Regions from separate parts of the Homo sapiens genome. Here regions 1, 2, 3, 4 and 6 are each linked to region 5. Evidence: promoter capture Hi-C in 16 types of primary human blood cells and fetal thymus (Javierre and others, 2016). All regions are on one chromosome and are shown on one strand. Each heading gives the region's core, a stretch centred on a gene start or on the middle of the fragment in contact. The rest is flanking DNA. Distances are from core to core; before and after follow the strand shown. Region 1 overlaps KDM2A (lysine demethylase 2A). Region 2 overlaps KDM2A (lysine demethylase 2A). Region 3 holds the start of GRK2 (G protein-coupled receptor kinase 2). Region 4 overlaps KDM2A (lysine demethylase 2A). Region 5 holds the start of RHOD (ras homolog family member D). Region 6 holds the start of ANKRD13D (ankyrin repeat domain 13D).

Region 1 (3,875 bases), core at 299-2,798, 180 kb before region 5:
GTGCAGTGATTCAGCAGCTACCCAATCTAATGCTTTTTTCTTTTGAGTGATGCTTAGATTCTCAAGGTATTCAAGCTCTAAGCTTGCTATATCTTTTCTGAGATTTAGCATAACTGATCAAATATAGGAATAATTAATCTATTTGATCTTAAGTGAAACTACACCTGCAGAGCTGGAATCTAAATCTGTTGTCTTCTGACGTCAGCTACATTTTGACTGTGGTTTTGGGTAAACGAGAAGCTGTGGACAAGTCTCTGGAGGGAGAATTCAAACACTGTCGGCCTGTGTAGTCATCTCACTGGCTACTTGTTCCTCATGCTCTGGCCTCTGCCACTATATCTTAGCCAGTGATGGCAGTCACGTTTTTCAGTGGTCCCTGATAAACACAAGCAAGCTATCTCCGGACACTTTTCATAATGCTAAGCCTCCTCTTTAGATGTCTCTTCTTAACTCCCCTCTCTTCTTGCTGACTCTGCTTAATATTTAACCCAAATCTTTCTACTTTTTCCTTTGGTATACCATTGTACCACCCTTTCACCTCAAATCTCCTTATTTAGCTACTTTAGTTAAACTACTCCAATGGATTTGTTGTTGTTGTTGTTGAGACAGGGTTTCACTTCCATCACCCAGGCTGGAGTGCAATGGCGCAATCTCGGCTCACTGCAACCTTTGCCTCCCAGGTTCAAGGGATTCTCCTGCCTCAGCCTCCTGAGTAGCTGGGATTACAGGTGTCTGCCACCACACCCAGCTAATTTTTGTATTTTTAGTAGAGACGGGGTTTTACCATCTTGGCCAGGCTGATCTTGAACTCCTGACCTCGTGATCTACCTGCCTCGGCCTCCCAAAGTGCTGGGATTACAGGCATGAGACATCGCACTGAGCCTTTTTTTGTATTTTTAGTAGAGATGGGGTTTCACCATGTTGGCCAGGCTGGTCTCGAACTCCTGACCTCAGGTGATCCTCCCACCTTGGCCTCTCAAAGTGCTAGGATTACAGGTGTGAGCCACTGTGCCTGGCCCCCCTAAATTTATAAAATGGCTTAAAAGTAGCTTAAAATAATCTATGTGAGGTTTTCAAAATAACATTACAACTTGTAGATTAGCTTTCTAATATACATACCCATTGTTCCAAACACTGATTTAAAAATAAAATTGCTATTTCCAGCTTTACAATTCTTGGTCTTCACATTAATTGTTACTTAGGAGGAAAGACTTAAAATAATTTCCTCCAGTTTAGATAGCTCAAGGTTGGGTGTGGAGGCTCATGCCCGTAATCCCAGCACTTTGGGAGGCTGAGGCAGGCAGATCACCTGAGGTCAAGAGTTCGAGACCAGCCTGGCCAACATGGTGAAACCCCATCTCTATCAAAAATATAAAAAAATTAGCCAGGCATGGTGGCACGTGTCTGTAATCTCAGCTACTCAGGAGGCTGAGGCACGAGAACTGCTTGAACCCGGGAGGTGGAGGTTGCAGTGAGCCGAGATCTTGCCATTGCACTCCAACCTGAGCGACAGAGTGAGACTCCGTCTCAAATAAATTAATTAATTAATTAAAATTAAAAAAAAAAAAAAAAGCTCAAGTCTGGATTCCTTAAGAAAAATATACAATATGAAGGGGAGCTGGAGGAGGGATAGCATTAGGAGAAATACCTAACATAAATGACGAGTCAATGGGTGCAGCAAACTGACATGGCACATGTATGTCTATGTAATAAACCTGCACGTTGTGCACATGTACCCTAGAACTTAAAGTATAATTAAAAAATAAATAAACATAAAACTTGATAAAGCAATGGGATGAATTATTTTAAAATGATGCTTTTCCCAATGTATTTAAGTCTTGATGCTAGATAAATTTGAATCTAAAGAGGCTAAAGCTACTCAACGTTAACCCAGCATAGAACAATTTCATTTCTCTCAATCTGCTTAGGATGAGACTCCTATCAGTCACTTTTGTCCTGAGTTTTATCTCAAGGTAACTTAAGTTTAATGTAACATTTCTTATATAAATATTTTCTTTGGGTCACTTTATTTTTGGGGTCAGCCTGAAACCTATGTTTAAGACTAAATTTATAAGTCTTCAATGAACACATAAATGTTAGTATTTTCAAAACAGGGACATAACCTCATTCTAGTAATGAAAACACTGAGCAGCAATAACAAACACACATGCATATTAACTTCTCTCTGACTGAACCAGAGATCACCCAAAATTCCTATATTTTCTCCCTCTGAATCTGGAAGCTGACTGCCATAGCTGGATCAGTAGCTGTCATGTAACACATCAAACCCTTACCTTTACATCAGCAATGAGAGCATCTTCATCTTCTATCCCTGTGGGGACACATTTCTTGTGCAGTGGCAGAGACTCCAACTTATCTACAAGGCAGCGAAGGCCTTCAAGCTCAAAATGGGTCAGATGCACTTGCCTGTCCTTTCGGGGAGCACACTGGGGATCCCACACTTGTCCATTGTGGGAGCCCCGGCTACAGTCAGAAGATGAGTCCCCAGCCAAAGTTTTCTTCAGACTTGGAAGACTTCGGCAGGTTTTGCCCAGTCCATCATAATCCAGGTTGACTCCATTCGCTACAGGGCTAGTGAGGACAGAACGCCTGCTGCTCAAGCGTCGGGGTTCTCGATCCACTGCTTCCTCATCCCCATTCCCAGACTCCAACCCATTTAACTCCAAATCTACCAATATGAAGAAAAAATGCAGTAAGAACATTTCACTCTGCCATGTGATCAGCAAGAGAAATAGGTGGCATGATAGGGGCCTTGAGGCTATAAATGACAAAATTACCACATTTAAAAAAATGGTCTATCTTTATTCCAACCCATTTGTCCACTGTTCAAAATCACAGTTAACAGGTAGAAACAGGATCCTGACCTAGGAGGACACCTAGGTAATAGTCAATTGGATTTTTTAAAGTTTGGGTAGGACCTAGTCTTTGAACTGTGTACTAGAAATCAGTTACTTATCAAAGTGGTTGTAAAGTCAGTTTCAAGTTAAAGCTTGAATCTGGGATTATTATTTCATTACCTTTTAAAAGAGAAGACACTAAGAAGCATGTATGTTTAAAAAATAGTTTTAGCCTGGGCAACATAGTGAGACCCCATCTCTACATTAAAAAAATTAGCTGGGTATAGTGATGCATGACTGTGGTCCCAGATACTAGGGAGGGTGAGGTGGGAAGACTGCTTGAGCCTGGGAGGTTGAGGCTGCAGTGAGCTGCGATCATATTACTGCACTCCAGCCTGGGCAAGAGAGTGAGACCCTGTCTCAAAAAAAAACAAACAAAAAAAAACCAAAAAACTTTTTTTTTTTGTCTGAAGTTTTGGTCTTAAAATCAAGCTTTGGAGTTGAAATTCTAACAACATAAGTAACAAAACAAAGTGACTATTTTTGAAAAGGAAGATTTTGATAGTCAAAACACAGTGATAAATGTTCACCAGTCTTTTCTTTTATAATTTAGAAAATGCAAGAAGGCGCAAAGCGGTAAATAAGTCATCCCTTATCCCTCCATCCTACGATAACAACTGAACAGTACAATATACTTTCTTTCCATGCTTTAACAGATGTGTATGATTATTATGTGGGTTTTTTTTTTTTATGTTGTGGTTTGTTTGTTTTGAGACAGGTTCTCACTCTTTTGCCCAGGCTGGAGTGCAGTGATGCAATCATGGCTCACTGCAGCCTCAACCTCCTGGGCTCAAGCAATCCTCCCACAATAGCCTCCCAAACAGCTGGGACCAGAGGCATGTGCCCCAACACTCAGCTAATTTAAAAAATTTTTGTAGACAGGGTCTGGTCATGTTGCCCAGGCTGGTCTCAACCTCTTGGACTTAGGTGTGCCTTCCACCTTGGTTTCCTAAAGTA
Region 2 (4,040 bases), core at 604-3,103, 190 kb before region 5:
GCTGGGCCCACCCAAGAGGTTCTGATTTAAGAGGCCTATGAGGGTCCTGACAGTTGACATTTCTAAAAAGTTCCTGAGTGAATGCCATTGGTCAGGACACCACACTACTGTAATAGGATGTGTGTGACCCAGATAAAAAGGATATATCCTAGAGTAAATATATACCAGAGTTTAAGGAAAAACCAACAATGCCCAATGGGAAGCTCCTTGTTCATCATCACTAGCAATTTTTTCCCCCAAGTGTCTGTCCAACTTAAGAAGAAATGGTAGCTCTCATTAAGGAAGCTTCAAAACTGGACTCTGCTTGCTGGAAGAGGGAATTCTGATCCAGGTTTGGGGGGATGAGCATTAAAACTGAAGAAAAATGTTAAGCACCTTCAAATTCATCTTGAAAAGCATGCCCACTTCTCTCACTGAATGGAGAGGTAATTGAGTCAGGGGCTTAAGTGAGGTTATCTGTGTTATCAGCACCAGAAGAGTGACTAGAACATCATAGGCTCTCAACCAACATGTGATGAGTTCAGCTGACTTGAGGAGGAAATTTTCAGCCCGCAAGACTCTCAAGTTTTATCACAGACTACAAATCTATCCCGCAAATCAGTCTCCCTCCCCATAACAATGAGACATGGGAAAGTATAGAGCAGGGCCAGGAGGCAAATGGCCAGTTCCCTAATGACATCTGCGGGTACAACAGGCTACATCTTTAAACAGGACCCAAAGTTTGGGAAAAAGGGTCAATTCACTCCTCATAAGACCCCACAGGCTTTCAGATGCCAAGGTGCATGCTGTTCTCATATGGAAAACCTGCCACCTACTCCCATACCCCTAATTCCTGACCCCCTGAATCCCTGCTCACCATTTATACCACGTCTTGCACACTCGCATACATTCACAAAGTTCTCTGCGGCTGAGGTAGCGGAAGACAGACATCCAGACCTCCCGCTGCATCCAGCTTTCGTCTCCATCCTGAGCCCAACTGCCCCGGCCATTCAGCCTGGCTGCACCCCCCTCCTCTGCACTGTCATCTTCCTCCTCCTCCTCCTCCTCTTCCTCCTCCTCTCCCCCCAGCCCCTCCTCATCCCCACGCTGGGGGGTTCGGGCTGGGCAGTGCTGCACTAGCACACGGGGGGAATGGCGAAGGTTGGCAGAGGAGGCCGTGATGGCCTGCAGCTTGGGCACAATGGATGTCCCGTGGAGCTCTTTGGTGGGCCTCTGTAGCGTGACAGTGAGGTACGATCCCCGGATCTTGGCTTTCTCAACTTCAGACAGCTCCTTTTTGCCGCTGGGATTGTTCTCCTTTTCCCGTACCATGGTGCGCTCTGTGGCCTGCAGCCGCAGCAACTGCCGCCGTTTGAAGCGCTCATCGCGGCTGGCACTGTGGTGGTCGCTGGGGCCAGCCCCAGGGGATGACCGAGTCACCATACCCCGGGGGGAAACCGGGTCATGGATGAGCTGCAGCATGGAAGTGGGTGAATGAGGCGGGGGCGTGAGAGGCTCATCGCAGCTCCGCAGGGGCCGCAGGACTTTGGCTTGCACAGCTTCTTCGTCACTCTCTTCCATTTTCCGCTTCTGCAAAACAGGCCCAGAAAAGCAACATCAGTGCTTCCTTTCTTCCAAACCCTCTGAACCGACAGGGTGGACCTCCCTTGCTCTCAGGGGACCAGAGAGAAGAAAGGTCACGTTGGAGAGGGGGTCATTCCCTCAGAGTCGGCCCAGGCTGGTCTCCAACTCCTGGGCTCAAGTGATCCACCTGCCTTGGCCTCCCAAAGTGCTGGAATTATAGGTGTGAGCCACTGCACCTGGCCTGACCATTTTTAATTGCGTCTCTGACTTACCTCTTTCACCCAAGAGACGTATTTCTGTTTCATGGTGGAAAAAGCCCACATATACCATTTGAACTAAGATCCTGAGTCTGACAATGGTAAACACCATTGGCTTCTAGCTCTACCACAGTCTAAGTTTGACTCCACCAGGCTGCGTCTTCCACTCCAACCCCCACGTGAATAATAAAGCAGATAACAAGAACCTCTCTGAGAAACTGGGTTGCTACAGAGAGATTCACTCAGGATTATGGTGAGGAATCCCACAAGAGCCCCCAACTTTATCTGTGGCATTTGTGCTCTCTAGATACTTGTCTTTTCCTGGAGCCCACTATGACTATGCTATGACAAAGCCCAGTAAACATGTTCCACTAGGAACCGTATCAGTAGTTCAGGTTTTTTGCAAGGAGACATTTTATGTCTCTAAGCAACAACCCTGTTCTCTGCTCCTTTTCCTCCTTACATTTTTTTATCATTATGGTTGGAAGAAAATGACCACCTTTTGGGTGCTACCTTTTCCAATGTATTAGAAGGTAATACTAAAACACAGCCATCTGCCAACAACACATCTGCTACAGCAGAGATGCAAACACTCAACATCACTAATGAAGACACATGTAAAGGTCACTAGTGCAAGAACTAAGGAGAACTTTGGCCCTAGTCAACTTCAAAAATCCTTGCCCTCAAAGACAAATAGATTGAAAAATTCAACTATCTTAGTATCCAAGTGGGAAGAAATAAAAAGTAAGAAAATTCCTTTCTGCCCCCTTCCCTGCTCCCGTGCAAGGGTCCTTGAAAGACTGGCACTTGGAAAGCCATCTCCTCCTGTAGGTGTCCACAGCTGGTCTTGCCTTGTCAGCCTGAGTAAGTACAGTCCTTTTGGCCCTTTGACATTATTGGCAACCACTGGTCAGCAACCTCAGCTCCTCTGGGCCAAGGTCATAGCACTGGTCCTCTCTGGGGGAGGGGCTGCCTCCACATGACACATTTGGGCATGTGGGATGGGCAGGGCAGGGCTTTCTGCCAGGCCACAAAAGTGAAGATGACAAAAATGTGAACCTGCTTAACTGGAAGCTCAAGTACACTGCTGCACTCACTGGCTGCCTCAGGCCACTGCCTCTCCTCTAGTTAACATTCCTCAGGAGGGATCATACTCACCTAATTTCTCTCCTCAAATAGCCCAGCCGTGGTTCCTCTCTTTGTAGGGCCCCAGAGTATAAAAGGACCTTAGGAATTTGCAGATCCCAAGTGGAACAACATTTAGTAATACAAAACACAATGCTACAAACTCTAACAAAGAAAATACTAAAAATTAACCAAAGGAAAAACATACCAAACCAAACAAAAATAATCTCCTAGGTCAGAGAAACTGTGTGAACACTAATGCAAAGGCAAACGTGTAGCAATCCCCCACATTTGATGCCTCCTTTCTGTCACAGTGCAAATCTGATAAGGTTCCTTTACCTGGGCTTTCTCCGAGCTGTCCTCCTGGTAGCACTTTGGACATTCCCAGCAATTTGGCAATTCTTCGTTAAGCAACCCCTCTCCGTCCATCTATAGGAAGACAGAGATGTTTTTAAAAGCCTGTCTCTCAAGCTTCCTTTATCCAACAATAACACAGTTGGGAAGAGTTACTCATTTCTCAACAACATTGGTCCATAAAGGGAGAAAAACTGTGAGCAATCCAGCCCCAAATAGCCAATGGTGCTGAACCTGATCTTGACAGTGCGGCACAGGTTCTGATAGCTTGGGTTTAGGGACTAATGCTCTAGTCTCTGTGACTCAGTGTTCTCCACTGTAAAATGTTGGCTGATATTATTACCTTCACTTTCCCTCAGGAACTAATACACAGAGATACAACAATATAATTGCCAGAGATACAACAAAACCCACCTTATAGGGTTGTGGTGAAGATTATTCATTGTGTAAAGAATTTAACAAAGGTATGGCATACAGAAAACCCTTTGTATTAGCCATTATCATCATCATGGAATTAATACCCTATTTCACCAATTCTTTGGGTTTGAGATATGTTAATAGATGTAATATGCACCATTTACATCTTCACCAAGTTATAATTAATCAAACAAACTTTTAAGATTGTAAAGTTGGCCGGGCATGGTGGCTCACGCCTGTAATCCCAGCACTTTGGGAGGCCAAGGTGGGGAAATCACTTGATGCCAGGAGTTCAAGACCAACCTGGCCAACATGGTGAAACCC
Region 3 (3,834 bases), core at 381-2,880, 210 kb before region 5:
TACCCAGAGTCACAAGATAAGACCACGGCAGTGTGGACAGGCCCCATCCCCAGCCCGCTGGGGCACCAGGAGGAGGCCAACTCTCAGGCATGCACAAGGAGTTGCCACACGACACAAAGAATCGTGGCGGGCACGTCTGCTCCCTGGCACAGGCCAGGGTAGCTGATGAAATGTAGAACCAGAAGTCTGAAGCCCTGATCTGTTGGCCAGGTGCCACCTGGGACTACCTGTGTGACTCGGGGCAGGCCACTCACCTCTGGAGCTTCAGTTTCCCCATCTGTTCCACAGGGACAAAACCACACCTGTCCTCGCCACCCCATGCGCTGCTGAGAGGCTCACACAGTGGAGAGATACTCTATCAGCCATAAAATGCTGGACAAACCGCAGCAATCGTCCACATCCTGTGTACTTTTGCACCTACATCCTGAACAGTCTAAACTTTGATACCAGGTGTGATGTCAGTTGTCTTACAGAGGCGGCAGCTAAGGTCCAGCCATTGCAGGTGTGCTGGGAGGGCCCCTGGTCAACAGCACCCACGGGGCACCATATGCAGGGCCTGCCAGAGGAGAAATGTAGGGGAGAGGGCACAGGGGATGTTTCCCCGACCTGAGCGCGGTCCGAGGGGGAGGGTGCCCGCAGCACCCTAGGTCCTGCTCACCACGCCGCCCTGAAAGCACTCTCGAGCCCAACTCCAGGACAGCGACCCCACCAGAGGGTGGGAGAAGAGTCCGGAAGACTGGCTGTCCCCCAACACCTCACACAAGTGTAGACTGGAGGAGAGACGGGTGGGGGTAGTGGAAACCCTAAAGCGAGTGCCGTGAGCAGGGACAGCAAAAGGGTGGGTGACATCGTCAGGCGAGGTAAATGGTGGCCAGCGGAGGGGAGGGGACCCCACAGGGACCAAGGGCTGCTCCGAGAAGGATGAAGGGGCGCGCCGGGCCCCCGTGGGAGAAGGCGGGAGCCAGGGGCTGACAGCGACTTCGGGGGGCCGGTGGAGCACGATAAGGAAGCAGCAGGGCGGCCAGGGGGACCCGACTGGGTCCGGGGACCGATGGGGCAGAGGAGCTCCGGAGTTGGGGCGCTCCGGGCTCAGGCGCCCAGGGTCTGGGGCTTAGGGTCTGGACCCGCAGGCGCCAAGGCCGGGCTGCTCCGGGCTGGGGGGCCGACAGGGGGTTGCGAGAGCCGGCCCCGGGGGTCCAGGTCGCGGGGTCGAGCATGGGGCCAGGGTCTCGGGGCCGCGGCCGGGGCGCCCGCGGGGTCGGGCCGGGGCCGCGGGCAGCTTCTCCTCACCTGGGCTCGGGCAGCAGGATCTTCTTGCTGGCGCGCGCGGCCGGCGTGGCCTTGCTCTTCTCCATGGCCATCAGGTAGCTCACGTCGGCCAGCACCGCCTCCAGGTCCGCCATCTTGGCGGCGGCGCTGCCTCCTCCCGCCGCCGCCGCCGCCGCCGCCGCTCCTGCTCGCTCGGCGCTCGGCCCGGCCCGGCCGCGGCTCGCTCGGCCTCGGGCGCCGACGCCTCCCGCCTGGCCCTGCTCGGCGCCCGCGGCTCCGCTCGCCGCCGCTCACAGGCGGCGCCGCCCCATGGCGCCGGCTCGGGCCCGGCCCCGGCTCGCGCTCCGCTCCCGCCGGGACTGCAGTCGGGGCGCCGCCGCCGCCGCCGCCCGCGCGCCCGCGCCCCGGAGCCGCCGCCGCCTCCGGCCCCGCCTGCCGCGCACAACGCCAGCGAGCCCGCGAGGGGCCGAGCCGGGCGGGCGACGGCGCCCCCTGGAGGCCGCGCGGAATCTGACCCCGAACCAGACCTGCGACCGCGGGCTCAGACCCTGGCCGTGACCTCGGCCCTCGATGCTGGACGGAGACCCGGGCCTGGAACACGACAGGGACCCGGCACGGAAGACGACCCGAGACCCATTCTCTGACCACAACCTCGGGTCACATCTCTGGATCCCAGGCTCCCCAGTCGGGCCGCAGCCCTGACACCAAACGTGATCACAGGGAACCTGGACGCTCACCAAGACACAGATTCAGACCTCTGAACACCATCCTGGGACTTTCATCTCAGACCCTGGCTATAACCCCGGACTCCCTGACCTTGGACGCAGTCCACGACCTGACACCAGACTCCAAACAGGACCCCAGACTCAAACCTTGGCCCACCACCTCAGACTCTAACCATGACCTCAGATCACAGCCCTGGGTCTCCAACGCCATACCCAGACTGCGACACTCACCTCAGACCCCCAACAGGTCCCCAGATCCAGATTTTGGACCATGACCTCGATCCCATCCTGGTTACTGACCCCAACCTTGATTCTGACCCTAGGCTACTACCATGACCCTGAACTCTAGACTTGGGGTCAGGACTCAGACCTAGATTGGACTGTCAACTCCAGATCACTGTCCTAGACTCAACACCCAGAACTGTGGACACGGACTCAGGACTAGGACGTCTAACCTGGGACCCACACTGGACCCAGAATCCTTAGTAGGTCACCCAGAACCTGGGACCTGACAACTGCAGCGCAGTTACAGGCTTCCCCCATCCCTGATCCCACCCCTCCTACTCTAGAACCAATCCTGGCCGCAGAAGGCCCACTCAGGATCAAGTACCCTGCACCCAACCCCACCCCCCAACCAGCTCATAGACCCAGGTCCCTGGCCAGCACTCTTGGCAGCTCCCTTCCCTGTACCCCATCCCATCCAGATGTTCCTTCAGGATGGTTCCACATGTAGTTACGGTAAAAACTCTCCCAGCCCGGAAGCGCACAGAGGTTTCAGTGCTGCCTGGCAGGGGAAACCCACCCTGCTGAGAGCCCACCCAGAGTGGGGAAAGCCAGGTGTCTCAAGGCAGCATTCCTATCTCAACATGCCCCTCTCTAGAGCCTCTCTTTGCTTTCAAAGTGACAGGACCCTCCTCCCAGCCCTGGGCACATAAAGCTCAAATCTCATTACCATGCTGTGGGCCAGCAGCCAGCATCCTTTTGCAAAGCAAGGCCCCCATCTCTGTGCACCTCTAGGCTACCATCTTGGATCAGCCCCAACAGAACCTGGAACCAGAGCATGTCAGAGCTTGTGAGGTTCTCCTCTCAGTGGGTGGTGAGTCACTCGCCACCCATATACCCATGTCAGAGCCTCAGTTTTCTTTTCCCCAACTGCTCCTTCATTCTCTCCCCTTCTCTAATCTAATTTGTCACCATAGTCTCCTGTCTGGCCTCCTGAGAATCTCCGTGAATCTGTCTACTTCTCAGGGTCCTCATGGCCAGCCACTGCCCTGATGCAGGCCCTGACCAGGGATGCTTTTCCCAAATCTAGATCTGATGGAGTCACTGCCTGCTTGGCACCCAGAAGCAGCTCTCCAGGCCTTCTGGGGCTACTGAGAGTGAGAGACCTAGAGGGGTCTCTAGGACTCACCACACTCTGCCCAAAGCAGATTAGGTGAACAAACTCCTTAATCTGCAAGTCAAGATCTTGGAGGACTTGGACCTTGAATGCTCCAGTTTGTTTCGCTACCATCCTCTGCACCTGGAGTTTCCCCACCAACTCACCCACCCATTCTCACTTCTGTGCCTCTGCTGTTTCCTGGGCCTGGAAGCCCTTCTGTGTACCTTCCTCCGTGGACAACTCCTACTCATCCGCTAAGACTCACCTCCTCCAGGTAGTCTTCCCTGACTCCCTGACCCCAACTATGTACATCTCCAATTCTACACTTACCACCTTCTAGGCCCTGTTTTCCATTTTCAGTTGCAAGATGCATTGTTGCAAGTTTCGACAGTGGGGAGTGAAGCCTCGTTACATGTCAGCATCAATTGGAAAATGCATCCTGATGTTGGAAATGCTGAT
Region 4 (3,802 bases), core at 1,043-3,542, 160 kb before region 5:
CTAATGCAGAGCCCAAACGTGTATACCTGAAAAGCCTCTGCTGGCAATTCTCATATACTTTATTGGAAAACCACTGCCTTTTCAAACTGAAAACAAAACAAACAAAACCTCAGCATCTATTCCATAATGACAGGAAGAAACACTGTTGTTTTCTGCAGACGCCCAGCATCATAACTATTCTTGGTGGTAATCCATCAATTTCTTTTTCATTAAGGAAAAAAATGGCTAAATAACCCACTCTTCCCATTTTGCTTACCTGAGGGAATGACGAAGGTATAGCCCTGCTTGAGCTCAATGCGCTGACAATCTGATACCCGGTCACCCAGAAAGATGTCTCCCTGTTTCCCTGACAGCAGCCAATTCTCGTACAGCTCCAGGTTGTGGGCTGTAGGGGGGATGAGCCAGAAGACCTGTGAGTTAAAAAACTTTAGTCTGTTAACAGCCATTGACATGACCCAGTCGTCTCCCTCAACTGATAAACAGGTACAAAATTAAGACCACCAGGTAGAAGAAAGGCAAGCAATTTTCCCAGCCTATAGAACTTGACTATGTGGTAAACCCTAGAAGGTCCAAGGCAGTAGATCTTTCTTATCCTTCACTTGATCCAACAGCATTAAGGCTTCCCTTGGGTTTGACTATACACCATCCAGGACTCGGAGAGAAGAGGGACCATTCAGCTCATTACCTAGGCAGTCCCTTAAACACTCTGTCTGGCTTCCAGAGTCCTAAGTAGTACAGTTAATTAGGCACAGTATCTTCAAGAGACTGGCTCAGGTTGTTTTGTCCAAGGTAGTAACTAAGATCAACAGGGCTTAAAGGGATCTGAAGCAAACAAAATGACTTTTGGATTTGGAGACATAGTTGTTCTGATTAAGACTTTTTTTTTTTTTTTTTTTTTTTGACAGAGTTTCACTCTTGTAGTCCAGGCTGGAGTGCAGTGGCACAATCTTGGCTCACCGTAACCTCCACCTCCTGGGTTCAAGCGATTCTCCTGCCTCAGCCTCCAGAGTTGCTGGGACTACAGGCGTGCGCCACCACACCCAGCTAATTTTTGTATTTTTAGTAGAGACGGGGTTTCACCATGTTGGCCAAGATGTTCTCGATCTCCTGACCTTATGATCCACCCACCTTGGCCTCCCAAAGTGTTGGATTACAGGCGTGAGCCACTGTGCCCGGACAAGACCTCATGTTTTTTTGTTGTTGTTGTTTGTTTCTTTTTTGAGACAGAGTTTTGCTCTTGTTGCCCAGGCTAGAGTGCAATGGCGCGATCTCAGCTCACCGCAACCTCCACCTTGTGGGTTCAAGCGATTCTCCTGCCTCAGCCTCCCGAGTAGCTGGGATTATAGGCATGTACCACCACACCCAGCTAATTTTGTATTTTTAGTAGAGATGCACTTTCTCCATGTTGGTCAGGCTGGTCTTGAACTCCTGACCTCAGCTGATCCGCCCGCCTTGGCCTCCCAAAGTGCTGGGATTACAGGCGTGAGCCACCATGCCTGGCCAAGACCTCATGTTTTAAACAAGGCATTATCTATTCTCATTCTAGTTCCTACTTTTCTCTTACAAATGCATTCACTGCAAGTTAGAGAAAAAAGAGTAACAAGAGTATAATACTATAAACCTCGGGTATTAATTCTAGATTTCCATTCTCATATAGCATTCAGAAGCATTTTCACAAGCTGGAATATAACTGAATGAATAAAGATAATCCTTCAAAACCTGTTTACATCCTCAAAAAGGACTTAAAGGCTTCCTTTGGCCATATTTCAGACCAATGGCTACATAGAGGGAAAGTTGGTTTAGATCTTAATTTGCTGATTTCACAGTGAATCTATCCAAAATTCGTGTTCCCTTCCACTATTTATTATACTTCCAAGTACAGAAATTATCTTGTCCTTCTAAAATCACTTCTTTGGCTTCATTTGGAGAACTCTGATTCAGGAATCTAGAAACAGGACTATTGAGATTTACTAAGTGCTGTGCCAATGGTGTAATGACAGTGAACTAGATGAATACTAATTTCTACTGAACACTAGCCAAGAAGGTGAACTTAATCTATAATTCTTTCCAGATACGAATGGGGACAATTCCCTAACAGATTCATTTCCAGGGTATATTAAGTATACATGAACTGAAGCAAAGTCATACAACCAACTTCAGATTCCAACCCCTATCACAACTATGACCATACCTTTCCCCCTTGATGGATGTGATACCAAACAGAGGTACCACCAAAGTCCACATGGAAGTCAGTATAGCAGCCTCGAACACTCATTAGACAGTACCTGACCCAAAAAAAGCAGCAGCATTAGTGTACTGATGGAAAAAAGTACATCTGCCCCACCAAAATGCCATACTCTCCTCTTATATACTCCCTTTATCTTCCACTTAATCTTAAGTTCCAGAAGGAGAAAAAGCAATGCATTTTCAAGTCATCACATTATCAGAAAAAGGTTTTTTTTTTTTCTACCGTATTGACTAAAATGTAAGTTTTTTTTCCTTTAACTGTGTGGTTGTGTGCTATGGTATGCTCACATACACTCTTCCTTGTGGAACTGTAAAGTCTCATCTTTAAATAATTCATCTTTTTAATCATTCAAGACACAGAGCAAAGCTCGTAAGGGAGAAGCCAATCCTTGCTATTGCTTTGGTCTCCCACAGCACACGGAGGAAGATGCAGGGCGCATCACTTACTTCTGCACTTTAGGGTACTGCATCTCCAAGATGGCATTTGTTGATTCAGTCTGGCTTTCCTTCAAGTGCCTTGGCCACATGTTGTCTACCCAGTCAATGAAATCCACCTTTAAATAGAAGGAGGAAACACTTGGGCTCCAAGGGAAAGGTTGGGGTCAAAGATAATTTTAAAGTCAAGAAAAGCAGAATTTCTTAAAATACATAACAAAAAACTATAATTTAATTATAAGCAAATTAAAAAAATCTGTTGGCGAATCTTAGGATTACTAGGCAACCATCCTAGAAATAATTGTTATATGAGAATAAAGATTAATCATTCCATCAAATGATAATAGTAAAGACAGCACTAGTCAAAATGGAATCATTAATTATGCAATAGTGTATAACTATGAACTCTCTTCTATGTCAATACTTATATAATTTGTTTTATTTTTTAATCCAATAAAAGGTGTTGTCTGGAAGGTATCTATAAACTCAGCAAAATATATACCATTGTTAGAACAGTTAAGATGCCAAAAGTTAGGCCAAAAAAAAGAAAAAAATCCAGTATAGATTTATAGCCTTGCATTGACAATGTGCTATAGAAACTACCAGCTTAGGAATAAGAAGCTCCAGGTCTATCATGTCTTTTCAAGACTATATAAGGCCCTCAAACTCATCTATAAAACTAAGATAGACCAGGCACAGTGGCTCACACCTGCAATCCCAGAGCTTTGGAAGGCCAAGGTGGGAAGATCACTTGAACCCAGGAGTTTAAGACCAGCCTGGGCAACACAGTGAGAACCCATCTCTTCAAAATAAAAAAATAGTTGGGATCAGTGGCTCACACCTGTAATCCCCAACACTTTGGGAGGCCAAGGCAGGCGGATCACCTGAGGTCGGAAGTTCAAGACCAGCCTGACCAACATGGAGAAATCCCGTCTCTACTAAAAATACAAAATTAGGCCCAGTGCAGTGGCTCACGCCTGTAATCCCAGCACTTTGGGAGGCCGAGGCAGGTGGATCACGAGGTCAGGAGATCGAGACCATCTTGGCTAACATGGTGAAACCCCATCTCTACTAAAAATACAAAAAATTAGCCAGGCGTGGTGGCGGGCGCCCGTAGTCC
Region 5 (3,699 bases), core at 1,104-3,603:
GACGGGAGGAGCCTGGACAAATCCAGCCCATTTTCCTGGTGATAAGCATGCCCTCCCCCCATTTCTGGCCAGCCCCAGCATGTCCCTCAAAGCATTCACATCTTATCAACTGGAAGAGGCCCATTTCCACGTCATAACTCCTCTGAAGTTGGGATGGTCTCACCATCAAGGACATCTCAGAGCTGGTGGTGAGGCATCAGCCCTCCAGCCCCCGCCCATCAGGTGCCTTCCCCTGGGCCTGGGCCACCTGTCCCTGTGTGGTGCTCTTCCCCGGGTGCCCTCATTGTTGGGTTCCCATGGGCAGCATCTAGGGGCCCAGAAACATGTTTCCCCCAACTTAAAAAAATGTATGACTGGTCAAAGGAGGTGACACCAGCTCCGCAAGCTACTAAACAAAAGTGGCTCAATGCCACTGCAGCAGAAAGCACATGGGCCAAGGGTGGGAGACAGGCAGACAGATATCATCCTGATAAGAACTACAGTGTGATAAGAACTGGGGTAGGCCCGACCGTCCTGCTTGTGCTCAGATGCTCCAGCACCTATACAACCCCAGGGGCTTAGAGGATGCTGGGAAGAAAAGGAGGAAGAATGCCAGTTGCGGTGGCTCAGGCCAGTAATCCTAGCACTTTGGGAGGCCGAGGCGGGCAGATCGCTTGAGGCCAGGAGTTCGAGACCAGCCTGACCAACATGGCAAAACTCCATCTCTACTAAAAATAAAAAAATTGGCTGGGTGTGGTGGCTCACACCTGTAATCCCAGCATTTTGGGAGGCCAAGGTGGGCGGATCACCAGGTCAAATGATCGAGACCATTCTGGCCAACATGGCGAAACCCTGTCTCTACTAAAAATATACAAAAATTAGCTGGGCACGGTGGCACGCGCCTGTAGTCCCAGCTACTCGGGAGGCTGAGGCGGGAGAATCGCTTGAACCTGGGAGGCAGAGGTTACAGTGAGCCGAGATTGTGCCACTGCACTCTAACCTGGCGACAGAGCGAGACTCCGTCTCAAAAATAAAATAAAATAAAATAATTTTAAAAATTAGCTAGGCGTGGTGGTGGGCGCCTGTAATCCCAGCTACTTAGGAGGCTGAGGCAAGAGAATCGCTTGAACCCAGGAGGCGGAGGTTGCAGTGAGCTGAGATTGTGCCAATATCACTCCAGCCTGGGTGACAGAGTGAGACTCTTCTCAAAAAAAATAAAAATAAAAAAAAAGAAGAGATGCTGGAAGCAACTCCATGGACTCCCAGGACAACAGGGCTGAGAGGCGGCAGAGCAGGGGCCGCCTGGTGCCCGTGGAGTCTGCCTGGGCAGTCAGTGAGCATGTCAGGAAGGATTAACGGTGGGCATGCCTACAGCGCCAAGGACATGCCAGCTACCGCACGGGAGCTGCCTGTCAGCCTCCCCTGGGCTCCACTTCACCACTGCCCTACAGTCCCTCTACCCCATGGGGTTGTTGTGAGGAAACTGAGGCTCAGAGAAGCTAAGCAGGTTACAAAAGGGCACGGGGCTCAGAGGAGAGCAGAGACGCGGGCCCAGCAGCTGAGGCTACAGCTGGCGTGCTCCCACCCTCCAAGGCAGAGCCCATGGCATGTGCTTTCCAGCGGCAAGAGCTGGAAGGGAGACAATGTTTCCCAGGAGCGACATGTGCCAACTCTCCGTGAGTCCTTCCTGTGCACAGGCCGGGGCTGAGTGCTTGAGGTCTATTAACTCTCTGTCACAGTGACCCTGTGTGGTGGGCACTGTCACTCACCTGTGATGTAGTGAGGGACACAGGCACAGCAGGGTTAGGGGACTTACCCAAGGGCACACAGCTATAAGAGGCAAAGCCATAATTTGAACCTCGGCAGTCTGGCTTCCAAGCTCTCAGGCCCTCAGCGGAATTGTGTGGCCAAGTGCTGTCTTAGGATCTTGTGTGCACCCAGGTCGCCTCACTCAGTCCTTGTGACACCTCTCCCCGGTGGATGCCATTCCTCCGGCTTTACAGATAACATCACTGAGGCCTTCATTCCCAATGGCTGGGGCGGAAGAACTCTGCCCTGGACCCCAGGCCCCGCTGGGACACCCCTCGGAGGCCGGGTTAGGCGCACAGCCTGGGCCGCTCCGGCACGGACCTGTACACCCGGGCGCGCGAGCGGAACCGGGCGAGGCGGAGGCGCGGGGCACTCACCTCGGGGAAGGCCCCATCGGCGAAGACCATCAGCAGCGACGTCTTCCCGCAGCCGCCGTCGCCCACCAGGACCACCTTGACGGACCGCACGCCTGGTGGCGCCTCCTCACCCGCGGCCTGGGCCGCCGTCATCCCGGGGCCGGGCGCTGAGCGGGCGGGCGGGCGGCTGCGGCGCAGAGACCCAGACTGCGCGGGGCAGGCCCGGCGGGGCAGGAATGTGGAAGGGGCGGGGCGGCGGGAGGAAGTGCGAGCCGGGCGCCCCGAGAGCCAGGTGAGAGGCCCGGGCGGCTGGGCTGGGGCCCTTCCTCTCCAGGCCGTCTAGGTCCCTGAAGAAACGCTGCCCGAGCACCTACTGTGAGCTGGCCGCGCTGGGGCCACGGGAGGTCGGAAGGGAGAAGACAAACAGCGGGACCATGACAGTGGGGGCGGGGGTGTGCTCAGGGGCTGGGTCCCAGATCCCAGGCAGGAGCCAGTGACCTTTAGTGAATGAATGAATGAATGAATGAATGGTGCATTTCCCCAGGGGTCTCAGGACGCAGCACAACACAGGCGTTTCATGCCAGGTGGGAAGGGGATGACCCCCTTCACTGGCCCCACCAGGCCTGGCCTGCCCCCTCCCGCAGCACCAGGAAGCTCTGCTGCAGGTGGGCAGCCACCTGACACCGTGGCTGGCCACGATCTAGGGAAAGCGATAGAACCTTCCCTCTGTAAAGTGTGAGTGTTTCTTATTATTGCACCATGAGATGTCCCCCTGGTGCCCAAGGGCCCGGGGACCCTGAACTGTTTAAGACAAAATCCAGGCCCTGCCTTGAGAAGCCCACGGCTTAGAATGGTAGACACGCAGGACATCAGTGTGATCAGAACTACAACGGGAGTAGGGACAGGCAGCGGGACGGGAGTAGGGGAAAAGAGCTCCTCGCCCACGTTGAGGGAGTCAGGAAACCTTTCAGAGTCTTGAGGAAAAAGTGAAACACAGTCAGATGGGGGAGGGAAAAGGTGTTCCACCGGAGACAGCGGCACGTGCGAAGCTGCGGAGGCCGGAGCGGAATGCTGCCCCCCCACCCCGCCCCCGCAGAGGGTGAGGCTCGCTTGCACAGTGGTGCAGCATGAGGAGCTGGTGCTTGCTCAGTGGAGCACGTTGGATGCCAGCAGTAAATCCAGCATTGAACTGGGAACTCATTGTCACCTGATCTCTCCACTTCTCCTAATGGCCAGAGTTGAAATCTTTTAAAAATGGGCACAAGGGTCTTCCCAGATCTTGGACTGAGTGTTTCTATTGAAGCTTAAAAGAACAAGGGGCAGACGTCATTAGGTTCCCCCTAATTTATGCTGGTCATGACATCCCCCCTCATGGAGTTCCAAGTCAGGCAGGTGAAAAAGCACCTTCAACCTCCTTTAAACTCACTGTGGTCTAAAGAGGCAGCCAGGGCAGGAGTCACTAGGTGGAGAGGCAGAGCCCAGCTCCTTGACTCCTCTGCCCGGCTCCCGCTCCGGGCTGTGGTCTGCAGGCTGGATGGAGCCCCACTTGGAGGGA
Region 6 (3,615 bases), core at 865-3,364, 230 kb before region 5:
GGAGCCCCTTGTCCACAGCCAGCCCAGCCCTTCATCAGGTCTTTTTTTTTTTTTTTTTTTTTTTTGAGACTTGCTCTGTCACCCAGGCTGGAGTGTAGTGGTGCAATCTCGGCTCACTGCAACCTCTGCCTCCCTGGGCTCAGGTGATTCTTCCACCTCAGCCTCCCGAGTAGCTGGGACCACAGGTGTGTGCCACCACTCCCAGCTAATTTTTGTACTTTTTGTAGAGACGGCTTTCACCATGTTGCCCAGGCTGGTCTCCACCTCCTGGGCTCAAGTGATCCGCCCACTTTGGCCTCAGAAAGCGCTGGGATTACAGGAGTAAGCCACAACGCCTGGCCCTTCATCAAGTCTTGACGCACTGCTATGGCTCAGCTACGCCCAACCACTCTGCCCTGGAGAGGGTGGGCCAAGTGGGGCACTACAGTGGTCTTCAGACAATGAGGCTGTAAGCACCTGGAGGTGGAGGGCCAGCCTCAACCTGGCCATGAGCCTGTGCAGAGCCCTGGGGGAGCCTTTGTTTCCACTGGGTCTCAGAGTCCTACTCTGTAAAGGGGGCACAGTGGCTCCCTCCGAGCCTGCTCCTGGGGTAGGGGGTATGAGATAGTATGCTCTGCCAGCCAGGCCCCTCCGTGTGCTTCCAGAAGGGTGCGTAGTAGCAAGTATTCCAGGGTTTCAGGCCATAATCCACCGAGTCAACCTGAAGTCCCTGCTCCAGGTAATCTGCATTCTTCAGGAGGCCCAAAGCTGGCAAGGCTTCTCTTCCAAAGGGTCCAGTCTCTCCCACGTGAGCCTGGCCGTCTCTCTTTCCTACGTGACCCTGGGCTGGGGTCAAGATAGACAGACCTCCTTGCTGGTGGCAGGAGGCACACTGCACAAACTGGGTGCCTTTCCAAGGCCAGGCCTGGCACAGTAACCAGGGTGGTGCCCTGCCATGGTACCCCACCTCCATAACTGTGCCCTGCTGTACCTGGCGAAGTTTGTTGAGCAGTTCCGGAATGCCCGCCAGCCTCTGCGTGGCCCTCTGGTAGTCCCGATACTGGAGCACCAGCTGCACCATCTCGGGGTCTCCAGTGCTGACTGCCTCCTGCAGGACTGCGGGCACCAGGCTGCTGAGGGGAGCCCTCCAGATGACCCCAGGCCTGGCTGCTCACTGCCCCCCGCCTGCCAGCCTCAGGGGGAGCCCCTTGTCCTCTGCAGTACCTGCCCAGCCCTGGCGGTTCTCTTTGCCCACGTTGGCATTGTGTCGAAGGAGCACTCTCACAGACTCCAGGTTTCCCAGAGACACGGCCAGCTCCAGTGGGGTCCGCCCGCGGGGGTCCTCCTGTTCAATGTCGTGCTGGGGGAGACGGGACACTCACAAAGGGCAGGAGAGAAGAGGGCAAGGCAGGGAGGCTGCCAGGGCGAGCAGGGTTGGGAATCGCTGTGGGAAATAAGGACGGCGGACTGACCAGGGAGATGGCAGAGGGTGGCCTGCGTGTCCTGGCAGGGGAGAGGAGGGGGCAGGAGGGAAGGCAGGGGCAGAGCCGGGGTCTGGCGGCGGGGCCTGGTCAGGCAGAGCTGCAGGTTGTCAGGAGTTTGGCGGAACCTGGGGACCAGGACCAGAGTTCTTGTTCTCAGCTTGGGTCAGCAAGGATGCGGAAGCGAGTTCGGGCGAGCAGGGCAAGGCCCAGCGCAGGGGAGAGGAGGCCAGAGGCTCAGGCGCGAGGGGCCGGTGACCTGGGCTTGGGATCGTGCAGGGGAGGAAGGCCCAGGATGTGGCTGCGGAGCTGAGCGGGCGGGGGGGGGGGGGGGGCTCCAGGACGGAGGCCACAGCCTTGGGTGGGGGACCCGGGGGAAGGGCCGGGTGCCCCAGCGGGGCCTCACCTGGTGGCTGTGCAGTGCGGCCTCCAGTTCGCGATGCCGGTTCGCCCAGACGAGCCGGTGCAGCGGGAAGGTGGGGCCCGGGCCGGCCATGCTGGGCCTCAGCGCCGCATCCCGGCCCCGCCTCGGCTTCGGGCCTGGCACGGCCCCCTAGCCTCCCCTCCGAGCCGCGCCCCAGCTGCGCCCCCCGCGGCCCCCGCAGCAGTAGCGGCGGCGGCGGCGGCGGCGGCAGCGCGGGCGGCAGGGAGGGCGGGGCGGGCGGCGGAGCGGGCGGGGCTGCGCCGGGCCGGGGCGGGGCTTCGCGCGCGCCCCCGTCCCCCCGCAACCATGGCAACCGCGGCCAGGCCAGCGCGCGGCAGAGCAACCGCGAGCGCCCGAGGAGATGCCCGGCCTTGGGTCTGCGCCCCGACCTCGGTCGGGCCCGGGTCCGCTGGGGCGGCCTGGAGGGCGGTGCCCGGTTACAGCTCCGCCCGCGGCCCGCAGGAGGCGCCCCGAGCCCTGCGCAGACCCCCGGAGCCGGGTCCGGAAGAGGAAGGCGGGGCCGGAGGGGGCGGGCACTGGGCCCCTCGGTAGTGCACGCGCGTGCGCGGCGGGCCGCGGTCCTGCTGCAGCCGTGATGCCTGCGTTTCCCCCGCGGATCCCCTTGCTCGCCCCGGTCTTCCTACCCCAGGTCCCGCGGTCACCGACTCTGCTGGGGTGTGCGGGTGAAGTGGGGCGCCCCGGCTCCCCTCACCCGGCCTGGAGACGAGCAACGAGCAGACGCCACTAAGTGCTTGCCGGCTGAGCGGGAAGCACCTTCCCCTGGGACCTGGCCGGTGTCTGCAGGCCCAGCGATGCGGGGAGGCGGCCCCCGGGGCCCTGAAGTCAGGGATAGGAGTTCGGGGAGAGAGGGGCGCAGGCCCAGGCAGCGGCAGAGCCGTCCCGGCGGAGGACCGCCCGCGGCGAACGGCTGCCTTCGCCCGCCGCACGAGTCCCTTTTGCAGAGGCTGCGGTTGGCTGCCAGCGTCAGGAGAGGAAGGCGAGTTTCGAAATCAGGGCCGGCCCCTCCACCCACACCGGAACTAGGGTGCAGGCCTCCGTCAGCTCAGTTCCGGCCCTTGATTACTGGAGGCCCAGCCTGGGGTCTGGGGCCCTGGTTTTGCTAGGTGGCCAAGGCTGACCCTCTATTCTCCCTTTCCCTACGTGGAACATGATTGAGGAGGGCCAGCTAGCTTGAGCATCACTTCCTGCTGTAGGGCGTCCTCAGTTCTGAGACTCTGGGCTGGAAGGCCTGATTGCCATTTTTACCCTGCCTTCTCCCTGTAGTCACATGGCGCCTGTGCCATCTGGGGTCACTTTGCCACCCCACGCTATGGTGTCAATCTGTGAGGTCCTGGGGTTGGTAGCAGCCCGAAGGCTTCTGAATGCCCAGAGCTCACCTGCTCACCACTACTGCAGCCCTCCCTGGCCACCCCTTTTCTCAGAGGCGGTCCCTTCCCTGAGCCCTCTCCAAACTCAACCCCGACAGGACTTTCTTGGTTCCAGCCTCTCCTGATTTCTGCCATCTTGAACACAGCTCCCCACTGGCACTTAATTCCATGACAGTGCCTTCTCAACCCTCTTCCACGGCCTCCTCTCTCTCCCTGACCCCCACATCCCTGGGAGAGAGACTGTCCGTTCCCATTGTCACCCTGATGCCACCCCCAGGTCCACATTTCAGCTTACTCCAGGACATCTCTGTGCCCAGGGATCCCATGCTATCCCATCAGTATG

The links. The method cuts DNA at HindIII sites, captures the fragments that hold promoters and counts their contacts. A CHiCAGO score of 5 or more calls a contact.
Region 1: a fragment that was not itself captured here is called in contact with the fragment with the promoter of RHOD in region 5 in 1 of 17 cell types (M2 macrophages); the score reaches 5.4 in M2 macrophages.
Region 2: a contact is called between a fragment that was not itself captured here and the fragment with the promoter of RHOD in region 5, in 1 of 17 cell types (endothelial precursors). The highest score is 6.0, in endothelial precursors.
Region 3: a contact is called between the fragment with the promoter of GRK2 here and the fragment with the promoter of RHOD in region 5, in 2 of 17 cell types (M2 macrophages and endothelial precursors). The highest score is 6.9, in M2 macrophages.
Region 4: a contact is called between a fragment that was not itself captured here and the fragment with the promoter of RHOD in region 5, in 1 of 17 cell types (M2 macrophages). The highest score is 8.2, in M2 macrophages.
Region 6: the fragment with the promoter of ANKRD13D here is called in contact with the fragment with the promoter of RHOD in region 5 in 11 of 17 cell types (M0 macrophages, endothelial precursors, fetal thymus and 8 more); the score reaches 13.8 in M0 macrophages.

What each region holds. Positions count from the first base shown.
Region 1 is chr11:67,230,380-67,234,254 of GRCh38, reverse strand. It overlaps KDM2A (lysine demethylase 2A), which reads right to left. Exons shown (of 21, transcript NM_012308.3): 12 at 2,295-2,689. Among named protein-coding and RNA genes, the nearest start is that of GRK2, 34 kb to the left of the region's middle. The HindIII fragment of the contact is 2,928 bases long and covers 85-3,012 here.
Region 2 is chr11:67,247,615-67,251,654 of GRCh38, reverse strand. KDM2A (lysine demethylase 2A) reads right to left here. Exons shown (of 21, transcript NM_012308.3): 16 at 3,285-3,374; 17 at 857-1,569. Among named protein-coding and RNA genes, the nearest start is that of GRK2, 17 kb to the left of the region's middle. The HindIII fragment of the contact is 3,131 bases long and covers 288-3,418 here.
Region 3 is chr11:67,264,269-67,268,102 of GRCh38, reverse strand. It overlaps GRK2 (G protein-coupled receptor kinase 2), which reads right to left and starts at 1,630. Exons shown (of 21, transcript NM_001619.5): 1 at 1,291-1,630. The coding sequence starts at 1,403. RefSeq lists an enhancer at 62-111 and a silencer at 1,642-1,841. The HindIII fragment of the contact is 15,021 bases long and covers 1-3,834 here.
Region 4 is chr11:67,214,339-67,218,140 of GRCh38, reverse strand. KDM2A (lysine demethylase 2A) reads right to left here. Exons shown (of 21, transcript NM_012308.3): 7 at 2,695-2,801; 8 at 2,192-2,285; 9 at 257-410. Among named protein-coding and RNA genes, the nearest start is that of GRK2, 50 kb to the left of the region's middle. The HindIII fragment of the contact is 5,186 bases long and covers 1-3,802 here.
Region 5 is chr11:67,055,501-67,059,199 of GRCh38, reverse strand. RHOD (ras homolog family member D) reads right to left here and starts at 2,353. Exons shown (of 5, transcript NM_014578.4): 1 at 2,166-2,353. The coding sequence starts at 2,297. RefSeq lists silencers at 2,215-2,284, 2,295-2,454. The HindIII fragment of the contact is 21,888 bases long and covers 1-3,449 here.
Region 6 is chr11:67,287,802-67,291,416 of GRCh38, reverse strand. It overlaps ANKRD13D (ankyrin repeat domain 13D), which reads right to left and starts at 2,114. Exons shown (of 15, transcript NM_207354.3): 1 at 1,867-2,114; 2 at 1,204-1,339; 3 at 971-1,095. The coding sequence starts at 1,956. RefSeq lists enhancers at 1-839, 840-1,764, 2,999-3,208 and silencers at 1,759-2,528, 2,709-2,778. The HindIII fragment of the contact is 22,420 bases long and covers 1-3,615 here.